Linked DNA regions of Homo sapiens: regions 1 and 2 are each linked to region 3. The links are contacts of gene promoters, found by promoter capture Hi-C in human tissues and cell types (Jung and others, 2019). All regions are on one chromosome and are shown on one strand. Each heading gives the region's core, a stretch centred on a gene start or on the middle of the fragment in contact. The rest is flanking DNA. Distances are from core to core; before and after follow the strand shown. Region 1 overlaps PCNT (pericentrin). Region 2 overlaps PCNT (pericentrin). Region 3 holds the start of PRMT2 (protein arginine methyltransferase 2).

Region 1 (4,585 bases), core at 969-3,468, 250 kb after region 3:
AGATTCTGGGCAAATAACAGGGAGGGGGAGTCCTGAGGAGGGGCTTGACGGAGAGAATGCCACCTGCTCCCCAGCACACTTCCACCCCCCAAAATGCCCAACTCCTGCAGGCATCAGGGCGTCTGCAGCCACCCCACCTCAAGACAGGCAGCCTCTCCAGTGTCCAGGGACCGTGGGCTCACCTCTGCACCCCTTGTGTTTAGAGCCTGGGACTACCCCGCCCACCACCCACCTCTGCACCCCTCGAGTTAAGAGCACAGACCGCCCCACTGGCCGCTGTGCCCCTCGGTTTAGAGCTCTCGCTCGCCCACTGACCTGGGTGACTGGAGAGAGTCAGCACCAAGCTACGAGACACCCACAGCCAAGTGCTACAGAAGGCAAGGTCCTCACAGAAAAATCACAAAACTTGATGAAAAGAACAAAGAGAGACCTGCACAGACACCCCCCACACACGGATGGACCCTCAGCATGACAGACACCAATGCTCCAGAAACAGCTGTGAGCTCAGAGGGTCCCATAAGCCCGACCTGGTCTCCGGACCCTGGGTGGTCTCCAGAGCAGAGCCAAACCAGTTCAGAGCTTCAGGACACAGCAGCACAACCCAGAGGCCTCGAGTGGGGACACAAAGACGGGAGCAGCAGCAGGACTCAGAGGCCTGGGGCGGGGACAGACAGACGGGAGCAGTGGCTGGACCCAGAAGCCTCAGCGGGGACACACAGATGGGAGCAGCAGCAGGACACAGAGGCCTCGGGCGGGGACACGCCAATGGGAGCAGCCAAAGACCCACACAAGGGGACGGGGAGGACGCGCACCAAGGGGAGGCTGCGTTTGGCAACACAGTGCCGAGTCCACTGCCCAGACAGGTGCAAGCAAGAACAACTCTGCAGGCTCACCCCAGAGTCACACAAAAGCAAAACTTAAAACCCTGTGAGGTGACCTGGGAAAAACCTCCATGGTGTCAGAGGAGCAAAAAGTTTCTCAAGACCCCACACGCGACAAAAGGGCAGACAAGCCTGCTGGACAGCATCACTGCAGGTGAGGAGGCACCAAGGCAGGATGTGGCCTGGACCCATGCGTTCAGGGAAGGCGGCCCCACGGCCCGTGGTAAGCAGACCCACACCCCGCCCTGGGAGAGCCCTCGGGGCTGGGCGCTCAGCCCAGTGCCTGCAGCTACCCAGGCACAGGCTCCCAATGGAGAAAGGAACGGACAGGGCTACGGCCCCTGCTTGGGCCGGTCTCAGAAACACACGTCACAGAGAGAGATGCATGAGGCACGACACTTGCACACAGTCCAAAGCACAGGAACCACGAGACATGTGGGCCTGCACCCCGTGCCGGGGACGAGGACACGCTGCGGGGACGCAGACACTAAAGGGGAGGGGTCGGGCTCTGTGTGGGAGATAACGGCTGGTTTTAATCTGGCCAGATGGGGAAATGAGACACAGCAGGCAGGGTGGGAGGAGGGCACGGGGGCTGGGAGATGAGACACAGCAGGCGATTTCTTCCCGGTGCTTACAATCTTTCTAACTGAGAGAAGAAGGAAGCCGGGTCCCCGTCCACCAGGAGCCAGCGTGCATGGTGGCAGCAGCCACGGGGCCAGGAGCCGTGGGGACCAATGGCATCTGCATGACCCAGCGGGTGCTGGCGGCCACAAGGCAGCCTCGGTGCCGAGGACACACTGACCTTTCGCTGTGGGACAGGTTGACGTCGGCCTTGAGCATGGAGAGGAGGTTTGCGCCTTCCCGGTTCTCCCGCTCCCGCCTCTGCTGCAGCACCTCCAACTCGGAGCGGCACTCTTCTATCTCGTGACTTAAGGATAAAACCTGGTCTTTCAGCTATCGAGAAAAATGGTTAAAGCTTTCGTTAAAACAATTTGGTTAAAAGCAAATGGCTGTAAGGGACTTTCAACACAATTTCAGTATTTGAGAGTCTCTGACTTAGGACTTTTCAGCTTGGTGATGGGGCAAAAGGAGCAGGCACTTCGGCACGTTCCTCGACTCACAACGCCTTCCACTGACAGTGGTCAAAGGCGTGACCTCAGCAAAGGCCAAGGAGCACCTGCACATTTAATAAAAATACGGCAAAGGTGAACGAGGTGCTGATTAAAGGTGAAAATTATTGATACGGTTTTTCCTCCATTATTCATCATTTACAAAAGAATACACAAACATCCCCAGGTGGAACCTGAGGCTAGGGGAGGGAAGGGGCCAGTTCATCAGAGATCCACCACTCAAACAGCAATTCGAAATAAGTCACTGTATCTGGTCATTCACAAAAGTCAGTTGCCAGGCAGGCAAAGATCTTTCTTTCTGAGACAGGGTCTCACTCTGTTGCCCAGGCTGGAGTGCAGTGGCACAATCACAGCTCACTGTAGCCTCAAACTCCAGGGCACAAACAATCCTCCCACCTCAGCTTTCTGAGAAGCTGGGACTACAGGTGCGTGCCACCACACACGGCTAATTTTTTTAATTTTTTATAGAGACAGGGTCTCCCTATGTTGCCCAGGCTGGTATCGAATTCCTGGGCTGGAGTGGTCCTCCTGCCTCAGCCTCCCGAAGTGCTGGGATTAAAGGTGTGAGCCATGGTGCCAGGGGAGGGCAAATGGGGAGTGAGAGTCTAATGGGGACAGAGTTCAGTTTTGCAAGATGAAGACTTCTGGAGATGGATGGTGGTGATGGCTGCACAATACTGTGAATGTGATTCCATCACCGAATGTACAACACCGTGAATGTGCCTGCACCACTGAACTACGCACAACACCATGAATGCACTTGCACCACTGAACTATGCACAACACTGTGAATGCACTTCTGCCACTGAACGCACAACACCGTGAATGCGCTTCCGCCGCTCAACGCACAACACCATGAATGCACTTCCGCCACTGAACTACGCACAACACCGTGAATGCGCTTCCGCCGCTCAACGCACAACACCATGAATGTGTTTCCGCCGCTCAACGCACAACACCGTGAATGCGCTTCTGCCACTGAACTATGCACAATACCGTGAATGCACTTCCGCCCCTGAATGCACACCACGAATGCACTTCTGCCACTGAATGTACAGCACTGTGAATGGGCTTCCACCACTGAATGCACAACACCGTGAATGGGCTTCCGCCACTGAACGCACAACACCGTGAATGCTCTTCCGTCACTGAATGTACAACACCGTGAATGCGCTTCTGCCACTGAATGCACAACACCGTGAATGCGCTTCCATCACTGAATATACAACATGGTGAATGCGCTTCCGCTGCTGAATGCACAACACCGTGAATGCGCTTCCGTCACTGAATATACAACACTGTGAATGCGCTTCCGCCACTGAATGCACAACACCGTGAATGGGCTTCCGCCACTGAATGCACAGCACTGTGAATGCGCTTCCGCCACTGAATATACAACACTGTGAATGCGCTTCCGCCACTGAACGCACAACACCGTGAATGCGCTTCTGCCACTGAACGCACAACACCGTGAATGCGCTTCCGCTGCTGAATGCACAGCACTGTGAATGTGCTTCCATCACTGAATATACAACACTGTGAATGCGCTTCCGCCACTGAATATACAACACTGTGAATGCGCTTCCGCTGCTGAATGCACAGCACTGTGAATGTGCTTCCATCACTGAATATACAACACTGTGAATGCGCTTCCGCCACTGAATATACAACATGGTGAATGCGCTTCCGCCACTGAATATACAACACTGTGAATGCGCTTCTGCCACTGAACGCACAACACTGTGAATGCGCTTCTGCCACTGAATGCACAACACCGTGAATGCGCTTCCGTCACTGAATATACAACATGGTGAATGCGCTTCCGCCACTGAACGCACAACACCGTGAATGCGCTTCTGCCACTGAACGCACAACACCGTGAATGCGCTTCCGCTGCTGAATGCACAGCACTGTGAATGCGCTTCCATCACTGAATATACAACACTGTGAATGCGCTTCCGCCACTGAATACACAACACTGTGAATGCGCTTCCGCCACTGAATGCACAACACCGTGAATGCGCTTCTGCCACTGAACGCACACCATGAATGCGCTTCCGCTGCTGAATGCACAGCACTGTGAATGCACTTCCATCACTGAATATACAACACTGTGAATGCGCTTCCGCCACTGAATATACAACATGGTGAATGCGCTTCCGCCACTGAATATACAACACTGTGAATGCGCTTCTGCCACTGAACGCACAACACCGTGAATGCGCTTCTGCCACTGAATGCACAACACCGTGAATGCGCTTCCGTCACTGAATATACAACATGGTGAATGCGCTTCCGCCACTGAATGCACACCGTGAATGTGCTTCTGCCACTGAACGCACAACACCGTGAATGCGCTTCCGCTGCTGAATGCACAGCACTGTGAATGCGCTTCCATCACTGAATATACAACACTGTGAATGCGCTTCCGCCACTGAATATACAACATGGTGAATGTGCTTCCGCCACTGAATATACAACACTGTGAATGCGCTTCCGCCACTGAATGCACAACACCGTGAATGGGCTTCCACCACTGAATGCACAGCACTGTGAATGCGCTTCCGCCACTGA
Region 2 (4,283 bases), core at 492-2,991, 230 kb after region 3:
ACATGCACAAGTTCCTTGAAAAATACAACTTATCACAACATGAAACAGAAATCCAAATACCTCAGTCTGTTAAAGAAAATTAATTACCATCAATCTCTCTAGATATAAAACTCCAAATGGCTTCATTGTTGATGCTATGAAAACATTCAAAGAAGAAATCCCAGCTATGTTAAATAACCTCTTTCAGAAAAGAAAGTGAAAAAATTCCCAATCTATTTTATGAGACTAACATAACCTTCATACAAAGCCTTAGGGAACACTGCAAGAAAAGACAATTATGCACCAACATCCCTCATGAACACAGATGCAAAAACCATTAACAAAATATTAGCAAATCAAATTCAGTAATATCTGTAACATATGAAAAGGGCAGTACATCACTACCAGGTATGGTTTATCCTAGAACCGCAAGGTTAGTTTAATCTCCAAGAAATAAATCACTCAATAAAGTTAACCTTATTAGTAGAATAAAAGAGAAAAATATCATCACTATTTCAATAGATCCAGAAAAAGCAAACTAGAAATATAACAGAACTTCCTTGATCTGATAAAAAGGCACCTGTGAAAAACCTAAAGCTAATATACTTAATGGCAAAACACTGACCACTTCCCTGTAAGACAAGGAGCTGGGCAAAGATGACTGCCCTAGCCAGTTTTAACTTTGTACTGGGAGTGCTAGACATTGTAATAAAAGAAGGAAATAACAAAAATTGGAAAGAAATAAAACTGTCTTTATCTGAAGATGATGTTATCTTATACATAAAAAGCCTTCAGGAATCCACAAAACGCTACTAATATACATAAATTGTGCAAGGTAACAGCAAGGTTAACATACAAAAGGTGTATGTGTATTCACGGTAAACAACTAGATAATTATTTTAAATCTCACTTACAATAGTGCAAAAAACCTAAAATATTTAAGGATAAATTTAACAAAAGACGTGAGACCTCTTTATTAAAACCTGTAGAATAAGGGAGAAGTAAATGGTAAAATTAAAGAAACATCACTAACCCCAGAGTTAGAATAAGCCACACAGGGAGGGAGGGCCCACATTGAGGATGAGGTGTTAGGATGGCTGGAGCCCCGGAGGACGGCAGTACAGAACAAGTGACAACAACCACGACCACGCCAGGGAGACGGGAGCTCCGTTTCCCCACAAGTGTAAAAGACGCTTCTAGAAGACAAACATCTTCACTGACATAAAATAGGGTAGAATACAGCAAATGTGGTTTCCTTGAAATAACTGGAAACCTAACAAGAGTCAAACCTTTAAATGGAATTTTACTTTTCTTTATTATATAAAGCAAAATAGCATCCGCATCTTTACAAAAAATTAGGAGAATTACAGAAAATGAAGGATGTACGAATTTGCACATATCTGTAAGAAAAATCCCACAAGAAAATATTGGGGATTGTCCTTAAAAAGCTTTCAATTCTTAATGGAACAAAAATACTGTCCTTAACATGTAAACTATTTTTTATATATTTTTCATTATATAAGATTATAGTTAGAGGTCAAGTTCTAGAGCACTATAGACAAATAATACAACTTCTTCTGAAAAGTAATCAATGGTTTTTAAAGGCATTCTTTTTTTTTTGAGACGAGTCTTGCTCTGTCGCCCAGGCTGCAGTGCAGTGGCGCAATCTCGGCTCACTGCCAACCTCCACCTTCTGGGTTCAAGTGATTCTTCTGCCTCAGCCTCCCAAGTAACCATTAGAGGCACCGGCCACCAGGCCCAGCTAACTTTTGTGTTTTTAGTAGAGACGGGGTTTCACCATGTTGGCCAGGCTGGTCTCGAACTCCTGAGCTCAAGTGATCTGCCCGCCTGGGCCTCCCAAAGTGCTGGGATTACAGGCGTGAGCCACCGCTCCTGGCCATAAAAGGCATTCTTCAATGTAACCCAAAAGGCTATTTTTAAATTTTTGCCAAATATACAAGATACAATCAGATACTAAGACAGATAACATCTCAGTAGCCTCTGTCAAAGGGAAATTAAAAGTGACAAACTGGAGACAAACTTCTCCTTACTTCTATGGTCCCCTCCAAAATTATTTTTTTTTAGGCAGGGTCCTGTTCTGTCATTACAGCTGGATTACAGTGGCATGATCACAGCTCACTGTGGCCTTGGCCTCCCAGGCTCAAGTGATCTTCCTATCTCATCCTTCAGAGTAGCTGGTACTATAGGTGTATGCCTGGCTAAATTTTTTAAAAAAATTTGTAGAGATGGGTCTCATTACGTTGTCCAGGCTGATCTCGAATTCCTGGGCTCAAACGATCCTCCCACCTCAGGTTCCCAAACTCCTGGGATTACAGGTGTGAGAGCCACTGTGCCCGGCCATAAAGTTAATTTTGTTTTTGAGACAGGGTCTTGCTTTGTTGCCCAGGCTGGAGTGCAGTGGCACAATCACAGCTCACTGCATCCTCCATCTCCTGGGTTCAAGTGATTCTCCTGCCTCAGTCTCCGGAGTGGTGTGTCACCATGCCTGGCTAATTTTTGTATTTTTAGTAGAGATGGGGTTTTCCCATGTTGTTTAGGCTGGTCTCGAACTCCTGAGCTCAAGTAACCCACCCTCCTCAGTCTCCCAAAGTGCTGAGAATACAGGCGTTTGAGCCACCGTGCCCAACTGATAAAATTAATTTTGAAAAGTATTATAAATATTGTATGAGGAAACAGAAGACTGTCATCCTGGAAAGCCAAGGCCCCAGTCAATCACACCCAGAAACTATGAGGACTTCGTACAGGAGACGCAGGCGTAGCCAGAAGCGTGAGAAGAGCCCCTTCTCCCCCAGCACCAGGGAGTGGCGTACCTCGCCGAGGTAAACCTGCGGTGCCTAGAGCTGCTCGTTCACACGCACTATCTCCTCTTCTTTGTTGGGCAGAAATGCCGGTGGAAATGGTAATAACAACAACCATATCAAAACAGAGCCGACAGAACCTTAATAGGGAAATATTCCACTGACCCTACAGATATGAAATGTCCTAATTAAATAAGCCTACAGTTTTAAATTGGAAAAATGGAAAATCAATTTGAAAATTTTTTTTGTTGTTATTGTTGTTGTTTTTTGAGACTCTCCCACGCTGTGTTCACTCAGGGAGCATTCCCACGCTGTGTTCATTCACCGAGCACGCGCCACGTGGGCACCACACACACACAATTCTCCCACGCTATGTTCATTCACCGAGCACGCGCCGCGTGGGCACCACACACACAATTCTCCCACGCTGTGTTCATTCACCGAGCACGCGCCACGTGGGCACCACACACACACAATTCTCCCACGCTGTGTTCATTCACCGAGCACGCGCCGCGTGGGCACCACACACACAATTCTCCCACGCTGTGTTCATTCACCGAGCACGCGCCGCGTGGGCACCACACACACAATTCTCCCACGCTGTGTTCATTCACCGAGCACACGCCGCGTGGGCACCACACATACACGATTCTCCCACGCTGAGTTGATTCACCGAGCACGTGCCGCGTGGGCACCACACACACAATTCTCCCACGCTGTGTTCATTCACCGAGCACGCGCCGCGTGGGCACCAAACACACACTATTCTCCCACGCTGTGTTCATTCACCAAGCACGTGCCGCGTGGGCACCACACACACACGATTCTCCCACGCTGTGTTCATTCACCGAGCATGTGCCACGTGGGCACCACACACACACGATTCTCCCACGCTGTGTTCACTCACCGAGCATGTGCCACGTGGGCACCACACACACACAATTCTCCCACGCTGTGTTCATTCACCGAGCACACGCCGCGTGGGCACCACACACACAATTCTCCCACGCTGTGTTCATTCACCAAGCACGTGCCGCGTGGGCACCACACACACAATTCTCCCACGCTGTGTTCATTCACCAATCACGCGCCGCGTGGGCACCACACACACAATTCTCCCACGCTGTGTTCATTCACCGAGCACGCGCCGCGTGGGCACCACACACACACAATTCTCCCACGCTGTGTTCATTCACCGAGCACGCGCTGCGTGGGCACCACACACACAATTCTCCCACGCTGTGTTCATTCACCGAGCATGCGCCGCGTGGGCACCACACACACACGATTCTCCCACGCTGTGTTCATTCACCGAGCACGCGCCGCGTGGGCACCACACACACTAATTCTCCCACGCTGTGTTCATTCACTGAGCACGTGTTGTGTGGGCACCACACACACGATTCTACACAAGGTCTTTCAAGGGCATCTGTGAAGTTATGAATGCTCTGCAATTTTGAATATCATCTCTACTATAAACAGGTT
Region 3 (4,778 bases), core at 135-2,634:
ACGCTTAGCTCTCTGTAATGCTCACATTCATTAAACACAGATTTTTAGGAAGTGGAACGGAAATTACCTGCGATTCACTTCTGGGACAGTCACCTGATGTTGCCATAGTTCTCTTAGGCTCTGCCTCATAACTGCTGATTTATTTCATTTTCTTTTCCATTTCTACTTTTAAAAAGAGAAGGAGACACAAAGTACTTGTTACATTGCTTAATAATTGAGTTCACTTAACTTCTAATGTGCATGATGTCCTCTACCAAATAGAAGTAAAATGTGTATGTGTGAAGATTAGTGTAGAAATGAAAATTTACAATACTTTACAGAGACAAAAGCATTTAAAAATCATAAACTTCAAATAGTGTGTTTTCTTCACTAGTCTGCAAGGTGTTAATCTTGTTCATTTGCTGAAGCCTGTTAGTTTCTGTTAGATCAGGTGTCGACTTAAGGCAATAAATCAGTATTCATTAATTTCTTAGAAGTGTGATAGCTTTAATTCCAATTAAAAGTCCCTACCTGGGACCTTACAGTGTTTCCACTAACAGGAACCAAGGTCTGCATCTTCCAGTCTTTTCCTTCTTCTCAATTCGTATTTTTCCAGTGATAGTGTAATCCACACACTGCTCTGGGATCAATGTGTTTTTAAAATTGCATAGCAATTCTTTGTTTAAAATGCATGCTTCACTTCTAAATCCAGACTTGAAGCTTATTTTTGTGATATTCGTAGTTACAAATGCTTACTGATTTGCATAATTATATTTTCATTGGAAGACCTGGGTCCAAACTGGGACGGGGTCGGAGTGGAGGCCGCAGTGCGCGCAGGACCCTGCCCTCCTAAGATGCCCTCGGGAGGAACAGGATCATGGAGGGTTGGAACAGGTGGCCAGTGAAGGGGGGTGAGAAGGGGGCAGGAAGCGAGAGGGCCACGCGTGGACGCAGGGGCACGAGAGGGTCAGGCTGGGACAGCGCCGCGAGCTTCGGGGCAGGGGCCGCCAGGCAGGTGGGCGTGGCCGCGAAGGGCGTGACAGAGATGGTGGTGGGGTGGGCGTGGCCGTAGAAGGCGCTGGACGGCGGGAGTGGCCGGGAAGGGGTGCGGCACGCAGGGAAGGGTGTGACGGGGACCGAGCTCCCGTTTGGACGCCAGGGAAAGTGGCTGAGATCGCGAAGGCGCTCGGAGGTCCCAAAAGGGGGCGGAGGCCTCTGTCCGCCAGCGACGCACACGCAGTGCGAGGACGCCTCACCTGGCCTGTCCTTCCTTACGTGCAGTCCAGCCATCTGAGCTGCCCATCAGGACACCTACCTCAATCGCGTTTCTCCGCTGAGTTCCGCGTCCACACCGCCAGCGCGGAGGGGTGGACGGTCCTTTCCAGGAGCCTGAGCCACCGCCCTCAACCCGCGCAAGCGCAGTGCACGCAGGCCGTCAGCCGGGAAGGCCCCGCCCAGGGCCCGGCGCCCCGCGCAGGCGCAGTCCTAAGACGTCCCCCATTCCAGGGAAGCCAAGCCACCGCCCTCGACTTGCGCCGGCGCGTCGCTCACAGATCGTCTGCAGCTGGGGCTGCGCCCCGCGCAGGCGCACTTCACATCTGCGCGTCCCGCGGTCTTGCGAGGCGAGGCCAGGTTCTCCATGTGTGGAGCTCGTCCCCAATCGCCCAGCCCAGCCGCGGGGTTGGGGGGCTCGGCTTGGGGTCCGACCCAGAGGGGCGCGGGGCAGGAGTCCGACCTGGGGCGGGGGGCGGGTTTGGGCCATTCACGGCTTGGGAAGCGACAACCCCTACGAGCCACAAAATGGCTGGGGCTTGGGGGACCCCCCACCTCCTCTGTCTTCCCGCAAATAATTCAGTTAACTTTCCCATCCGCGCTGCGCAGTGTGCGCCCTCTGCCTTTCTTCTGGATAAGTGGAAGCAGAATGATGACGTTTCTGTTGTGGGGAGAGGAAGTTTGGGGTTAAGGAGAAATGGGTGGCGCTAATGCCTGTAAAACATAAAATTCGAAGCCCCCCCTCCCCCGCAGCCGTCTGACTGGACTCCCTCCTTTACCAGGGGACCCTGAAGTTCAACCTGAGAGACTATTCTGGCCTCGAAGGGAAGTAAGAGTTGGACATGCCTTTTTACACTCCTCCAGCATTAACATCAAGGCAGACCTTAAGTCTGATTTAAAAAAAAAAATGTGGAAGGAAAATAAATTTGGGGGCCGCAAAATCATTAAGCTTAAAAGGAAAAGTCAAGTTGGGAACTGCTTAGGGCAAACCTGCCTCCCATTCTGTTCAAAGTCATCTCTCAGCTCACTGAGATAAATGCGTATCTGATTGCCACCTCTGGAGAGGCTAACCAGAAACTCAAGGGAATGCAATGATTTGTCTCATATTTACCTATGACCTGGAAGCTCCCTCCTGCCTTTGCTTTGAGTTGTCCCGCCCTTCCGGACCAAACCAATGTTCATCTTACATATATTGATTGATGTCTCATGTCTCCCTAAAACGTATAAAACCAAACTGTGCTCTGACCACCTTGGGCACATGTCATCAGGGCCTCCGACGGCCGTGTCATGGGCGTGCATCCTTAAATTCAGCAAAATAAACTTCCTAAGTTGACTGAGATCTGACTCAGATATTCAAGGTTCACATTTTGGTAACCACAAAGGGATTCTGAGTAGAGGTGCCACTGACCTTTGACAAATCTGTCAGTCCTTAGTACCAGCTTGAGCTATCTTTATGGCTCAAACCAATAGGACAATTTGCTGAGGCCTGGAAGCACCCCCTCCAGAGAATCCCTGATCTACCCAGATTTAGTCAAGATCTAGTTTATTTTGCTGTACAACTCCTTTTGTGTGTTGGGCGGGGGTTGGGGGGCGGGGTGTGCTTTACTCTCTTCCAACATAAGGAAGTAGTAGTTTTTTCCTGCTTCCATGACAATGGAAGGCAGGTAACTCGTTTATGGAGTTTGAGCTCGCTTCCCACAGGAAAGATGAGGGGTTTTCTTCCTCTGCTTCTAGGGTGGTAGAGAGCAATCTTCAGCCTCAGACCCATCCCTAGGAAGTAACTGAATTGGGGTTTGTCTTGGCTATTAAGATTAACAACCAGCTGGTCTTAATTTCTCCTTACCATTAGTGTGCTCAGTAACCTTATAAATTGCCCAATCCTTCGTTTCGCTTAACTGGTTTTTTTGTTGTTGTTTCTGTTTTTTGTTCTTTTGTCTTTTTCGCATTGAGTTTGACGAACTCTATCTGACTTGATCGAAACCAAAGGAAAGTTCCAAATTATGAGAAGTGAGGCCTCTGAAGTGGCTAAGTTTCAACCCCTCCCCACCACACACACACACACAAAAGGTGATGTGGTGGGGGGAGAAAAACAGCTAGCAAAAGGAAAAAGAAAAAAAAAATTTATTTTGACTACTTAAAGGGCTTTTCTTACATAACAAGGCCACATTTTTGCTAGCCAGACCAACCAAAAAGAGTAATGTCTGTCACCCCACACTGCAGTTCCATACCTAAGGGTTCTGCCTTCTTTTTTTCCACCACCACAGCCTGGGTTTAGTTCCTAAATTAAGCCCTTTCTGGTTTGATACTTGGTACTTCTGAAATAGCAGCAATTAGTCCTAGCTGAAATATGATAATGAGATTTATTTATTTATTTAGACAGAGTCTGGCTCTGTGTTCCAGGCTGGGGTGCAGTGGCACAATCTCAGCTCACTGCAACCTCCACCTCCCAGGTTCAAGTGATTCCCATGCCTTAGCCTCCTGAGTAGCTGGCATTATAGGCCTGCACCACCACACCCAGCTCATTTTTGTATTTTTTTGGTAGAGATGGGGTTTCACCATGTTGGCCAGGCTGGTCTCAAACTGGCCTCAAGTGATCCGCCTACCTCGGCCTCCCAAAGTGTTGGGATTACAGGCATGAGCCACCATGCCCAGCCAGTAATGAGATTGAAAAAGTTTATTTTTAAGGAGCTCAATGGTTAAAAGCTTAATTAAAAGCTAACATCCAACATATGTGTGTTGTGTGCCTGTGTGTGTGTGTTTGTATTTAAAAGGCTTCCAGTTTTGTTTTTTTTGTTTTTTTCTCTCCTAGGACCTTGTCTTTTTGAGCAAAAGTTTTTTTCTTCTTAGTTGACTGGCTTCTGTTTTCTTCATTTACTTTTGTCGTGTCTTCTTTCTCTTGCACCCTCTGCTTCATGGGAAACCTAATATAGTTTGTAATACCCAGGGTTCCTTACAGAAAACGGAGAAGGTGCCAGATTCCCCTTGGAGGAGAAACCTCTGTTTCCTTATGGAACCCCAAATGTGTAAACAGACAAGTTCATCTCAGCTTTTTTTTTTTTTCATCTCAGCTCTTAAACTGCTTGCTTTTGTATTGTGTTACCTAATTTTTTTACTAAAATAGTTACTGCAACAGAGGCTACTCTGGAGTTCTTAAGGAATAGTATAGTTTAGACATGTAGAAATGTCTTTGTTGAAAAAAGTTTTTTAAGTGCACTGTAAAAGCATGATGTAGTCTAACCTCATAATAATTTTCGCTTTTTGGAGACCCAGGATTCAGTGTAGGGTCTGCCCAGAGCTCAGAGATCCAGTTAAAATATAGGGAGTCTCTGTCTAAATAAAACTGGTCTCCTTATACAATCCTATGATAGATTTTCATAATTTTATGTTTGATTTCACATCCATTTTTAATCTCTCTTTAGCACCACCAGACTTTTTCCTCTCTGTACCTTAAAATGTAAATTTTGCTATCTAATTTTTCATCTAATAGTTTCCTTTAATATGCAGATTTAGGGCTATTTAGCCGGCAA

The links. Contacts are between HindIII fragments. The study calls those that stand out against the background at their distance.
Region 1: a fragment that was not itself captured here is called in contact with the fragment with the promoter of PRMT2 in region 3 in 1 of the 25 tissues and cell types used here (lymphoblastoid cells).
Region 2: a fragment that was not itself captured here is called in contact with the fragment with the promoter of PRMT2 in region 3 in 2 of the 25 tissues and cell types used here (lymphoblastoid cells and mesendoderm cells).

What each region holds. Positions count from the first base shown.
Region 1 is chr21:46,383,082-46,387,666 of GRCh38, reverse strand. PCNT (pericentrin) reads right to left here. Exons shown (of 47, transcript NM_006031.6): 17 at 1,684-1,835. Among named protein-coding and RNA genes, the nearest start is that of PCNT, 61 kb to the right of the region's middle. RefSeq lists an enhancer at 1,173-1,673. The HindIII fragment of the contact is 4,226 bases long and covers 106-4,331 here.
Region 2 is chr21:46,403,011-46,407,293 of GRCh38, reverse strand. All of the region lies in intron 27 of PCNT (pericentrin), which reads right to left. Among named protein-coding and RNA genes, the nearest start is that of DIP2A, 54 kb to the left of the region's middle. RefSeq lists enhancers at 2,828-3,337, 3,338-3,848. The HindIII fragment of the contact is 7,053 bases long and covers 1-4,283 here.
Region 3 is chr21:46,632,280-46,637,057 of GRCh38, reverse strand. It overlaps PRMT2 (protein arginine methyltransferase 2), which reads right to left and starts at 1,384. Exons shown (of 12, transcript NM_206962.4): 1 at 1,295-1,384; 2 at 511-619; 3 at 68-162. The coding sequence starts at 106. RefSeq lists silencers at 966-1,515, 1,626-1,845 and an enhancer at 1,616-2,286. The HindIII fragment of the contact is 3,678 bases long and covers 1-3,077 here.